Linked DNA regions of Homo sapiens: all the other regions are linked to region 2. Evidence: promoter capture Hi-C in human tissues and cell types (Jung and others, 2019). All regions are on one chromosome and are shown on one strand. The core of a region is centred on a gene start or on the middle of the fragment in contact, and the rest is flanking DNA. Distances in the headings are between cores, read along the strand shown.

What was found. The method cuts DNA at HindIII sites, captures the fragments that hold promoters and counts their contacts. A contact is called where the count stands out against the background at its distance.
Region 1: a contact is called between a fragment that was not itself captured here and the fragment with the promoter of LAMA3 in region 2, in 2 of the 25 tissues and cell types used here (IMR-90 fibroblasts and aorta).
Region 3: a contact is called between a fragment that was not itself captured here and the fragment with the promoter of LAMA3 in region 2, in 2 of the 25 tissues and cell types used here (IMR-90 fibroblasts and mesendoderm cells).
Region 4: a contact is called between a fragment that was not itself captured here and the fragment with the promoter of LAMA3 in region 2, in 1 of the 25 tissues and cell types used here (IMR-90 fibroblasts).

The regions. Positions count from the first base shown.
Region 1 is chr18:23,643,549-23,646,411 of GRCh38, reverse strand. It overlaps ANKRD29 (ankyrin repeat domain 29), which reads left to right. Exons shown (of 10, transcript NM_173505.4): 3 at 125-223. Among named protein-coding and RNA genes, the nearest start is that of ANKRD29, 18 kb to the left of the region's middle. The HindIII fragment of the contact is 7,883 bases long and covers 1-2,863 here.
Region 2 is chr18:23,688,158-23,690,859 of GRCh38, reverse strand. LAMA3 (laminin subunit alpha 3) reads right to left here and starts at 1,407. Exons shown (of 75, transcript NM_198129.4): 1 at 883-1,407. The coding sequence starts at 1,176. RefSeq lists an enhancer at 1,499-2,048. The HindIII fragment of the contact is 10,376 bases long and covers 1-2,702 here.
Region 3 is chr18:23,741,785-23,744,782 of GRCh38, reverse strand. All of the region lies in intron 2 of LAMA3 (laminin subunit alpha 3), which reads right to left. Among named protein-coding and RNA genes, the nearest start is that of LAMA3, 54 kb to the right of the region's middle. The HindIII fragment of the contact is 7,323 bases long and covers 1-2,998 here.
Region 4 is chr18:23,723,091-23,726,115 of GRCh38, reverse strand. All of the region lies in intron 2 of LAMA3 (laminin subunit alpha 3), which reads right to left. Among named protein-coding and RNA genes, the nearest start is that of LAMA3, 35 kb to the right of the region's middle. RefSeq lists an enhancer at 1-159. The HindIII fragment of the contact is 5,076 bases long and covers 1-3,025 here.

The DNA.
Region 1 (2,863 bases), core at 245-2,744, 45 kb after region 2:
CTGCAGGGAATTTTGCCCTTGGATGTGTTCTGAGTGGAGCTGACATCTCTGCAGCATCTTCTCTAGGACCCTTCTCTCTGACATAGCAGTGGCCTAACTCTTCATCTGTCTCTCCTCCATCCAGCATGGCACCACACTCCTGATGGTTGCTGCCTACGCTGGCCACATAGACTGTGTGAGGGAACTGGTTCTGCAAGGAGCAGACATCAATCTCCAGAGAGAGGTAGGTCAGGCTTTGCACTTGAAGAAAAATGACCAGGCTCAGAGATCTGAAGTTTTCATGATAGTGAACTGGTATGGGGGACAAGAGCCATCATTGCTTTTCTCCCACATTAAAGCCCATTGCAGAGTTTATTGTGCCTACAATGAGGTCCAGCAACGTACTAGCAGTTATAATGCATTTGAGCGTAGCCTGTCGGGCATATCTGAGGTAACCAAACCTCTTACCACCTGCCTATAAACACTCACACTTTTTTTTTTATCAAGCTTAAATCAGTTCTTTATTACTCCCTTGGGATGAGATACTGTAGGATTTATAGCATTTTCATATAGATCATTATATTTTTAGAAGAGTTGAGTCACCAGCCTATTTGTAATGAGGCTCACTTGCTAGGATGTCTCAATCATCCTCCCCAAACCATGTTTTCAAAGGACTGCTCTCTAACTGGCCATGAATTAAATAAGCTCTCCTGGAAAAAGCCGTATGGGTCAACACTGGACAAAAATGTGAGCCTGTTCCCACACTTCATTCAAGGACAATCTTGGGAGTTTGGTCTTGCTTGAGGATCCATTCTTGGTCTAATCTAGAGAAGCAGAAGGGAGTCTGGGACTTTTTTTTAAGATGGAGTCTCGCCCTGTGGCCCAGGCTGGAGTGCAATGGCGCAACCTCGGCTCATGCAACCTCCACCTCCCAGGTTCAAGTGATTCTCATGCCTCAGCCTCCCGAGTAGCTGGGACTGCAGGTGTGTGCCACCACGCCCAGCTAATTTTCTGTATTTTTAGTAGACATGGGGTTTCACCATGGTGGCCAAGATGGTCTCGATCTCCTGACCTCGTGATCTGCCCACATCAGCCTCCCAAAGTGCCGGGATTGCCTAGGCTGGGACATTTTAACATACTTTGGGGCTCAATTCTGAGAAAGCTCCATCCATATATTTCCAAGCTGACCCAGGACCTGGTAAACTAATCTTTATGGAGACACACGCTCAGGTCACCCCTAGAGTGTATCTGACCTCTCAGTTCACACTGACTCAGACCTGAGATGGGCTTCCTGGGCAAGTCCAGACTGAACCACTTGGTTTTCCTTGGTCCAGCCTTATTTTATCCCAGGTCATGCCTTGCAACATTTTAGAAAGACAATTCACCAACCAAACTTTCATCAAGCCAGTATATCGTATATCTCATTCTTCCAGCCTGGACCGTCACCTCTGAGTGGAGCAAATTAAGACACATCAGGTCTCAGGACTGTGTCAAGAGTTCCAGGTGTAACATAGGCCTGGGCAACATAGCAAGACCCCATCTCTACAAAAAAATTTAAAAATTTAGCCAGACATGGTGGTCTACACCTATAGTACCAGTTACTTGAGAGGCTCAGGCTAGAGGCTCGTTTAAGCCCAGAAGTTACAGGCTGCAGTGAGCCATGATTGTACTACCAGCCTAGGCAATGCAGAGAGACCCTGACTCAAAAATAGAGTTCCAAGACACATCCAGATGTCCTTCCCACCACCCGTCTGGGTGTTGGAGGCCTTGGCTGTGGACCATGAAAGAGTGACATGCAGAATCTGGGACTGGGTCTCTGTAGCCCTGGATCAACAGGCCTGGTCTCTTGAGAGGAGCAGTATAAAGAGACTACAGCAAATGCAGTCTTCTCACAAACAGATTCTTTGGTGCAATTTCCATAACACTAGATCGTTGTTTGAGGTCATTTTCACTTCAGCACTTAATTTTCCTGTGGGATGAAAATATCTGGACCCACTTAGAATTACAGTTTAAAATTACTTTAATCTTTTTATTTTTCCTCTCTGCTTTATGGTCTTTGTTTATTACAACTTTAAAGACAGTTTTTCTCTAATAAAAACAATATGGTCCAGATCTGGTTTACTTTAAAAACTTTATCCTGAAGGACAAATTGCACATGCACAAAAATCTCTCTGAAACAACTGAGAAAAGCAGCTAGAAGAGGAGAGAAGTATTTGATTTCTAGCCAGTCTATGGTTTCTATGGTTTTATATTTATCCATTTGGTTCCAATTGCTCAACTAATCTTGGAGATGAAAACTCTCGTAGCACTGAGAACAAAAGCCTTTGAAGATTTACCAAAGTGTACTCAGCTTAAAGGTAACCTGCGTGGCTCAAATGATGGTGCTATGTAAGTTCCTGGCAGTCCCTGAATTTCCTGAGACTGTGTCAGTCTGGGGCAAGAGGGCTGCCAAGCCAAAGGCAGACCTCAGCCTCCTGTACCAGTTTTGGAAGCTAAGAGTGCCTTGCAGTGCTTTGAAACTTACTCCTATGGCAGACTTCTGCCTTGATCCATTGTTAGTTAATCCACTTTGCAATATCAGAATATTTGTCTCCTGAAAAACTACCTGCCACTCCTTGCTTAGGTCAGCTCTCTAGATACACAGAGCTTGCTAGAGAGACAAACTGGAAACTAATGTTCCTGAAACACTATTGCTGTAAAGAACCCACAATTGGCTGATGACACCTCTCAGGCATAGGAGCTGCACATACAGTTGGCATGAAGCCCTGAAGTAAGGCACACATATTTAAAACTTTTATTCACATTCCAGACTAAGGTATAGCTCCTATTTATGGATTGCTGCATTGAGGTACAGAATGATTAATAGTAGTATGTATGTTCTAAA
Region 2 (2,702 bases), core at 158-2,657:
GGTTGCAGTGAGCCGAGATCGCACCATTGCATTTCAGCCCCGGCGACAGTGCGAGACTCTGTCTCAAAAAAAAAAAAAAAAAATTGCCAGGCACGGGGGGGCACGCCTGTAGTCCCAGCTACGCCCAAGGCTGAGGCGGGAGGATCCCTTGAGCCCAGGAGTTCGAGGCTGCCGTGAGCCGTGATCGCACCACTGCACTCTTGCCTGGCTGAGACCTGTGAGTAAGGGCCAGGCACTGCAAGATGCTGCTTAACATGCACCGCAATGTCGTTTGCCCCGGGTGTTCGCGGTGAGGCTCGGATCTCTGAGAGCCTTTCTATCTCTGTCCGCCTAAGGTCTCATTCGCCCCCAATGACTGGATGGTGGCACTTCAGGCAGTGCAGTGAAGTGAATCTTTTCAGTAACATTAGAGTGATACCGCTGTTATAACCTAAAAATTCTCTCTTAAAATACACCACAGAAGGTAATTGCCACCGACTTCTCCGAATAAGGCCCGGGAGGTGGGGCAGGAGGCGCCCCTGAACCCTCGAGGACTCAAGCCTGGCGGGACGCTCCGTGGGTGACGGAGGCGGGAAGGGCCGAGGCGCCTGCATCTCTTAGAGCGCAGCCTCACACTTTCCCCTCCACCAGCCCGAACCTGACCACAGCCTCATGTCACCTCGCGTGCTCCCCCTCCTCGCCTCGGGCCGGTGGTGCCGGTGCGGTGCTTCCACGAGATCGCTCCTGGGTCGTGGGCCCTCGCGCGCGGGGATGGGGGCTGCCCTTCCCAGTCGCCCGGAGCCACTAGCGCGCGTGAGGAAAGGGCCCGATCCCTTCTCCGGGTGTCTGGCCGGCGCGGGAAGGAAAAGGCGCGCCCACCCCGGCTCTCTCCGAGGCCCTCACCTGGATGGTGTGGCCGCTGCCTGGGGCGGTGGGGCCCCCGACCAACTTGCAGTAGAGCTCGGGCTGGGGCCTCCCCTCGCCGGGTCCCCTCTCCCCGCAGGTGGCGGTGGCCCAAATCCTCGCCGCCTCGGCCAGGTTGAAGTAAGTCGGGTGAAGGCTGAGCCCGGCCGCGGCCCCGGGATCCCGAGCGGTCGCCCCGCAGGCTGGCAGCACCCGCAGTACCAGCAGGAGCAGCGGCGTCGGCGGCAGTACTGGCCCCAGTGCCCGACCCCGAGGCCGCGCGGCCGCCGCCATCCAGCCGCGCGGGGTCCTCCCGCCTGAGCCGTCCGCAGAGGGGCTCGGGGGCACCGCCGCTCTCCGCCTGCGCCTCCCGGACCTGCAGCGCCAGGACTAGCGCAGCCGGGGATATGGGCGGCGCCGGGGCCGCTCCCCTTGCTCCACGCGCTGGAAGCCCGCGGCGTGGGGGTGGCCTCTCAGCTCTGGAACCTGCCGCGGCTGGAGCGGGCACCAGCCGGATCAGGAACTGACAGCGCTCAGCCGCGCGCCAGCAGACGGCGTCTCTCCCGCGCGAGGCGCGCTGCAAACTTCGCGGGCGGGGAATGGGAGAGGCGTTCCCGGGCTCCCACCCAGGCGGCGGGAACGGGAGCCTGGGATCTTCGAACCCTCCAGGCGCCAGGACAGAAATTAATTAGATCGTTCTCCTCTCTGGATACTCACCGCTCAGGTCAAAGCCAGAAAAGCCACCTGTGACCTAAGAGTAAAGGAGGCTTGTAAACGAATTTGGTTGAGAGCAGAGGAAACTGCCACTACCTACAGAACTCACATCAAAGACATTTCGATTTCCCAGCCAAGTGTTGAGTCGTCAACTCCTCAACACTGTGCACCTAGGATCCCTGTGGCACTGCAGCCACAGGCTGAGCCAGGGAACTGGGAGTGGTGGAACGTACATATTTAAAAGACAGCCAATAATGCAAGTTGTAATTTGCCAACCTGGAAAGGAACCTTAGAGGAAATCCTTTAGATGCCTAATCTGCTCAATTTTACAAATAAGCTAACAGAGATTGAGTGAGGTACGCCACCTGCCATGATGGCCTCAGAACAGAGAAGACCCCCTCCCCCCACGACCCCGGACTGATGCTTGGTCTTATATGCAGAACACCCTACTAAAACAGAACCCACATAGGCCCTCGAAGAAATTAGAGGAATGCAATATTTGTACAATAAAAATTGCAAAACCTCTTTGAAAGAAATGTTAAAAGACCTAAATGAGTGGAAAAGCCTCCCATGTTCATGGATTAGGAGACAATATTGTGAAGATGGCAATATTTCCTAAAGCAACCTACAATTCAACACAATGGATTTTGATAGGGATCAAAATCCCGACTTTTTTTTTTTTCAGAAATTGACAAGCTGATCCTAAAATTCATGTGGAAATGCAAGAGACCTAGAAAATCCAAAACGATTCTGAGAAAGAATGAAGTCAGTGGACTCACGCTTCCTAGTTTTAAAACTTAATACAAAACTACAGTAATCAAGACAGTGTAGTACCGACATAACGATAAACATAGATCAATGGAATAGAATTGAGAGCTCAGAAATAAACCGTTACATTTATGGTCACTGGATTTTCAACAGGGTGCCAAGACTATTCAATGGGAAAAGAATAATATTTTTAATAAACGCTGCTGGGAAAACTGGACATCCCAAAATAATCTAGTAGGATCCCCACCTCATACTATATGCAAAAATTAACTCAAAATGGATTTAAGATCTCTAAATTTTACATTTAGAGAGCTAAACTATAAAGCTAAAACTATAAA
Region 3 (2,998 bases), core at 24-2,523, 54 kb before region 2:
TTGGCTCACTGCAAGCTCCGCCTCCCAGGTTCACGCCATTCTCCTGCCTCAGCCTCCTGAGTAGCTGGGACCACAGGCACCTGCCACCACGCCCGGCTAATTTTTTTGTATTTTTAGTAGAGACGGGGTTTCACCGTGTTAGCCAGGATGGTCTCGATCTCCTGACCTCGTGATCCACTTGCCTCAGCCTCCCAAAGTGCTGGGATTACAGGTATGAGCCACCGTGCCCGGCCAGATTCTTTTGAAGCATTATGACACTTAAAAATCCCAACTCTAGCAGCAATTGATGTGCCCCTCTGCCTGTTACAGTATCCTGCCACCCAGGCCTAACTTAATAAGTCCACTGATGGCACCAACTCATCTTCCAGCACTAATTAGCTAGAACATGCCACTTTTCAATGTTTCCCTCCCATTTTTGTCTCAGGAATTATTTCTGAGGTTCCCCAATGTATGTTTATGTGCTCTGAATATTGGTAGGGTGTATCTCTTTGGTTTGGATCCCATTTGCACCAAGCGACTATATGTGTTATTTATCACCACCCCTGCTGTGTAACATGCCCTGGAATCTTGCCAAGGTCTCCAGCTCTGCAGCAAATCTCCTCTGACACTTGCAGATTCAAAATGTCATAGTGAGGCAGAGTGAGTGGTCTCATAATTATGTTCACAGCCAGGTTCAGGCATGTTAAGCCAACAGGTAGGGATTTATTCTGTTTTGGTTGGTAATTTTAAATTATATGCTTGTTGAATCACTCCTTCTGCTACATTCCTTTTTTACTCTCAGTACTTATGTTTACTCTTTGGCCACTGAAAATACTTCAAAGCACACATGAGTGCTGCTAGAGATTTGCTGATATAAACGAGGACCCTCTGTGAGACTAGAAAGCACCAAGCTATGGAGCCACTGTAGGTAGAAAGGCAAAGTTGTGCATTTTCAAAGAGATCGTATTTGGGGGTCAGAGATAAGGGGAGAAATGATGGAGAGGGACTGAGTTGTAATCTCTCCACGTGCTTTTGTAATAAGCTAAAGATAGCTTGAAGTGTGTTGGTGATTGTTTAGGTAGAGAAACAAAGTAGTCTTTTAAATAATGTTTTAATAAAGCAGATAATGATCATAAAAGGGGGAGTGTGAGGCACTTCAACTTCAAAAGACTTCAGGGTGAGTAGGGAAGACAAGAGGGTGTCCTCTGATCCTTGTTTCTCACCCCAGTGCTGCATGCTCTGAAGCCTCTGAAATTATAGATTGGTACAGCCTGTCCTCTATTCATTTCAGGGCCTTCCTGGACTGACTGCATGTAATAGGTGTTCAATACATGCTATGAATGAATAAATGAGTGGATGGATGGATGGATGGATAGTAAAGCTGTGTAGCTGCTACTGAGTTCAAGGGGCAGGTACCATTTGGCAAACACAGAGACAGAGCTGAACCCCGAAGTGGTCCTACCCTGGTGTCTAAGCTAAGTTGTAGTAGAATCAACTCCCCTGGGGGGGATATCTCTGCCCTGTCACCCACTGGCTATGTGACTCCAAGTACATGACTTACCTACTCTGAGATTTCATTTATTTGCTCATAAAATGATCAAAAAAGATATTTAAGAAAATGAAGAATAATATCTACTTCATACAAATTTGATATTCTCCTTCTAAAAGAGCACCTGTCATGCACTGCGGTACCTGTTTTCATCTGTCATTCCCACTAGGCTGCACCATCTTTGGTCTTAATCACTCCTATATCCTCAGAAAAGAGGCTTAATACATGTTGTTGAATTGAAATTAAACTAACAGACGGGATTGTGAAAGTGCAAAATACTGTGCAAGTACACTTAAAGTCACATACAAAATAAGCTTCCTACTCAACTAAATAGTACTCCCTGTGCCAGAAAACTCTAAGTTTATAATAAAAGTGAGATCAGTCTGTCAATAGCTTTATAATTTAATAAACATACTATTCCACAAGGTAGCATTTCATAATTTACTTCTCCCAACTTTTTATTTTGCATAATTTGTAAACCTACAGGACAGCTCAAAGAACAATACAATGAATACTCACATGCTTTTCACCTAGATTCACCAACTATTAACAATATACCATATTTTTTGTTCTCTACACACACACACACACACACACACACACATTTTTGATTCTTTGAAAGGAAGTTACAGACATCATAATACTTTCCTCCTAAATACTTCAGCATGTTATCTTCCAAGAACATGGATATTTCTTCTATATAAATTCAACATTTTCATGTCTAAGAAATTTTATGGATATTTCTTCTATATAAATTCAACATTTTCATGTCTAAGAAATTTTACCATATATTCAAAATTGTATTTAATACATTGTCCATATTCAAATTTCCCTGATCCTCTCAATAATCCCCATTGTATTATTTTCCCATCTCGGGATTTAATCAAGGATTACATACGGCAGTGAGTCGTCAGGTCTCTTTTGTCCCCTTTAATCCACAGCAGTCCCCCAACATGTTTTGTCCTTCCTGACACTGACATTTTGAACAGTCCAAAATGTCCCACAGTCTGTTCTAAGTCTTAATGTTCCATCATAGAATTGGTCACAGAATCACAGAACGTCCCACAGTCTGAATTTGTCTGCTTATTTTATCATAATTTGACTCAGATGGAGCATTCTTGTTTGTTTGTTTTGAGTCAGAGTTTCACTCTGTCGCCCAGGCTGGAGTGCCATGGCACGATCTCGGCTCACTGCAACTTCCACCTCCTGGTTTCAAGTGATCCTTGTGCCTCAGCCTCCCTAGTAGCTGGGATTACAGGTGTGCACCACCATGCCCAGCTAATTTTTGTATTTTTAGTAGAGATGGGTTTTCTCCACGTTGGTCAGGCTGGTCTCGAACTCCTGACCTCAAGTGATCCGCCCGCCTCAGCCTCCCAAAGTGCTGTCAGGTGGGGCATTCTTGGCCAGATCACTAAGTGGGTGGCACTTCCTTCTCATGATGTCACCAAGAAGCACGTGAAGCCAAGCTGT
Region 4 (3,025 bases), core at 143-2,642, 35 kb before region 2:
TCCCAGGATACTTGGTGTAGGAGGTGGCTCAAGGGATGGTGAGAGTCTGCCCAGCAAGGATGACTGTGAAGGGAGGGGAAAGAACTGAATGTTCCATGCTGGTTATGCTGGTTACTCTGTGATGCTGAGGAGTGATAAAGGTAAACATACAATTTTATCACTCAAAGTGCTTAAAACCTATGGAACAGAGTATGTCATGCATGGTGCGCTGAATCTGGAATTCCTAAGCCATAGAATGTTTGCATTTGTGGTTTAAGAATTAAAGAGAGAAGTGCAACAGCTCAGAAGTTTGCTCTCAAATGAGAGAGACACAGGCACATAAAGCACCCTTATCTGGAGGCTACAAGACCAAAGGGAACCTTGTGAGGAAGAGCAGCAGAAGCTGCCAGGTGGAGGAGACAAAACCTGGCCCCTCTGGTCTAGAGTGAGCTGCGCAAGTCCTGGGGAGGCAGGATGGTCACATTGTCTGTGCCCTGAGGCCGCCTGGGGACCCAGTACAACTGTACTAGACAGGCAAAGAGCTTGGTCTTGCTGGAGCCCCCCTTATGGGGAGCCCCAGACCTCCTTAGCTCACTCCCCACCCACCTCCACTCCCCTCTCTGCACACACACCCCCAGTGACTCAGCAGGCCACCACTCTGCCAAGGACACAGCATGGCACCCTCCTCAAGGCTGGCAGTGACCACCAGAAAAGAATGGTGGGTTAGGCCGGGCGCGGTGGCTCATGCCTGTAATCCCAACACTTTGGGAAGCCGAGGCAGGTGGATTGCCTGAGGTCAGGAGTTCAAGACCAGCCTGACCAACACGGTGGAACCCCGTCTCTACTAAAAATACAAAAGATTAGCTGGGCGTGGTGGCCCATACCTATAATCCTAGCTACTCAGGAGGCTTTGGCAGGAGAATCACTGGAACCTGGGAGGCGGAGGCTGCAGTGAACCGAGATCGTGCCACTGCACTCTAGCCTGGGTGACAAAGCAAGACTCTGTCTCAAAAAAAAAAAAAGAATGGTGAGTTATACTGTTATACTTAGAAAAGGTGGTTTGGTTTGGTTCTTGTTTTTTCCTAAAGTAAGGAAATGCGATGGGAGTAAAAAGTGAAAAAGAGAGAGAGGGGAATCACAGAAACAGGAATAGAGAAAAAAGAAGCATCAGGAAGGAAAGAGTGAAGGAAGACCATTTGGTGGTGCAGGAAGGCTGCAGGGTCACAGATATGAGAAGGAGCAAGGGCTCTGTGGGGGCTGGGCAGGTGCCCTGAGGACAGCAGGCAGAGAAGAGGTGCCAGGCACAGTGACTCCCCTGAGACGCCACATTTAACTCAAGCTTCCGTGAACTGTCATGAAGAATTCATGAAATTCAGTTTTTCCTTATATATGCTTGCCATTAATAGTAATAGGAAAATGGCCATGATTTAAAGCCCAAGTGTGCTTGAAATTGCAAAAGTTCCACAAGGGAAGAAGCATATAAAATAGTTTTCAAGATTAGCTAAGGAATGAAATATGCTCTTTTTTAAAAAATCAATTTCCATTTACTGAGTATTTTTCTGATTCTGTTGGCATTGAAAGATCTCTAGCAAACCAGCCTCATTCTGAGACAAAACAGTCAGAAGCTCATATCAGGGGGACGGGGTGGCAGGGGGTGAGATAGGGCATGGAGGGCATCAGGAAATAGTTCATACTGGGGAGACAGAGGACATCAGGAAAACTCCAAGGAAGCTTTTTCATTGATAACTCAGATTCTACCAGAAATCATTGTTCCTTTTATCCTCTTTCTATAGAACCCTTTTATTTTCTCCAAAGAGAAAATGGCTTTATTGATTTTCTAATTCTAAAAGTAATACATGCTCATTGTAGAAAATAAAGATGTATACGTACATACCATTGACTATTACTCAGCCATAAAAAGGAATGAATTAATAGCATTCGTAGCAACCTGGATGGGATTGGAGACTATTATTCTAAGTGAAGTAACTTAGGAATGGAAAACCAAATATCGTATGTTCTCGTTCATATGTGAGAGCTAAGCTATGAGGATGCAAAGGCATAAGAATTACTCAATGGACTTTGGGGACTTGGGTTAAAGGGTGGGAGGGGGATGAAGGATAAAAGTCTACAAATTGGGTGCAGTGTATACTGCTTGGGTGACGGGTGCACCAAAATCTGACAGATCACCCCTAAAGAACTTACTAATGTAACCAAACACCACCTGTTCCCCAAAAACCTATAGAAATAAAAATTTTAAAAAAAATACAGATAGTATAGGTAACATGGATTTAGTTCTTACAGCATGTAAGGCACTATTCTGAGAGCTTTTTCTGTATTATCTGATTAATTTCTCACAAGAACCCTCCTAGGTTGGTACTAGATTTATCCCTGGATTTCAGATGAAGATACTGACCCCGAGACATTCGTTAGACCATCCAATTACACACAGCCAGGAAGCTGTGGAGTGAGATGTTTACCTAGGTAAAAACCCAGAGCCAGCAAGCTGACATACACTGTGAGATTTACAGAAGAAAGTAAAAATCACTGATCTCCCCATCCACCGAGAAGCACTCTTAGCATGTTCAAGTATCTCTTTCCAGACTTTGTTCTTTGCTTATATAGGCACATTTTTTTTTTCCTACTAAATGTGATCATTCCATACAGTCTAGCTAGTTTACATATAGTTTTGGTCTGTTTCTTCACCATATAGCACAGACACATGTTGTGTCGATAAAGACCATTCTATGGCATCATGTGGTGCCTATTAATCCACTAACTGAGTCAGTCCCCTTTTATTGGACATGAGATTGTTTCCCACTGGATGCTATTTTTATAATGCTTTGGTGAGTATCTTGCATCAGACATTAGAGCATTTATCTCATGAATTCCTTTGGATAAATTCAGAGTAGTAGTTTCATGTCAAAGATAGAAATTTTTTTAATGCAAATATTCTGGGAAGTAACATCAGTACTGAGTTCCCAGAACTTTCGTGTGAATGTGTTTATAGATACTTCACTCCCCAGAAGACATAAGGCAGCCTAAGCTC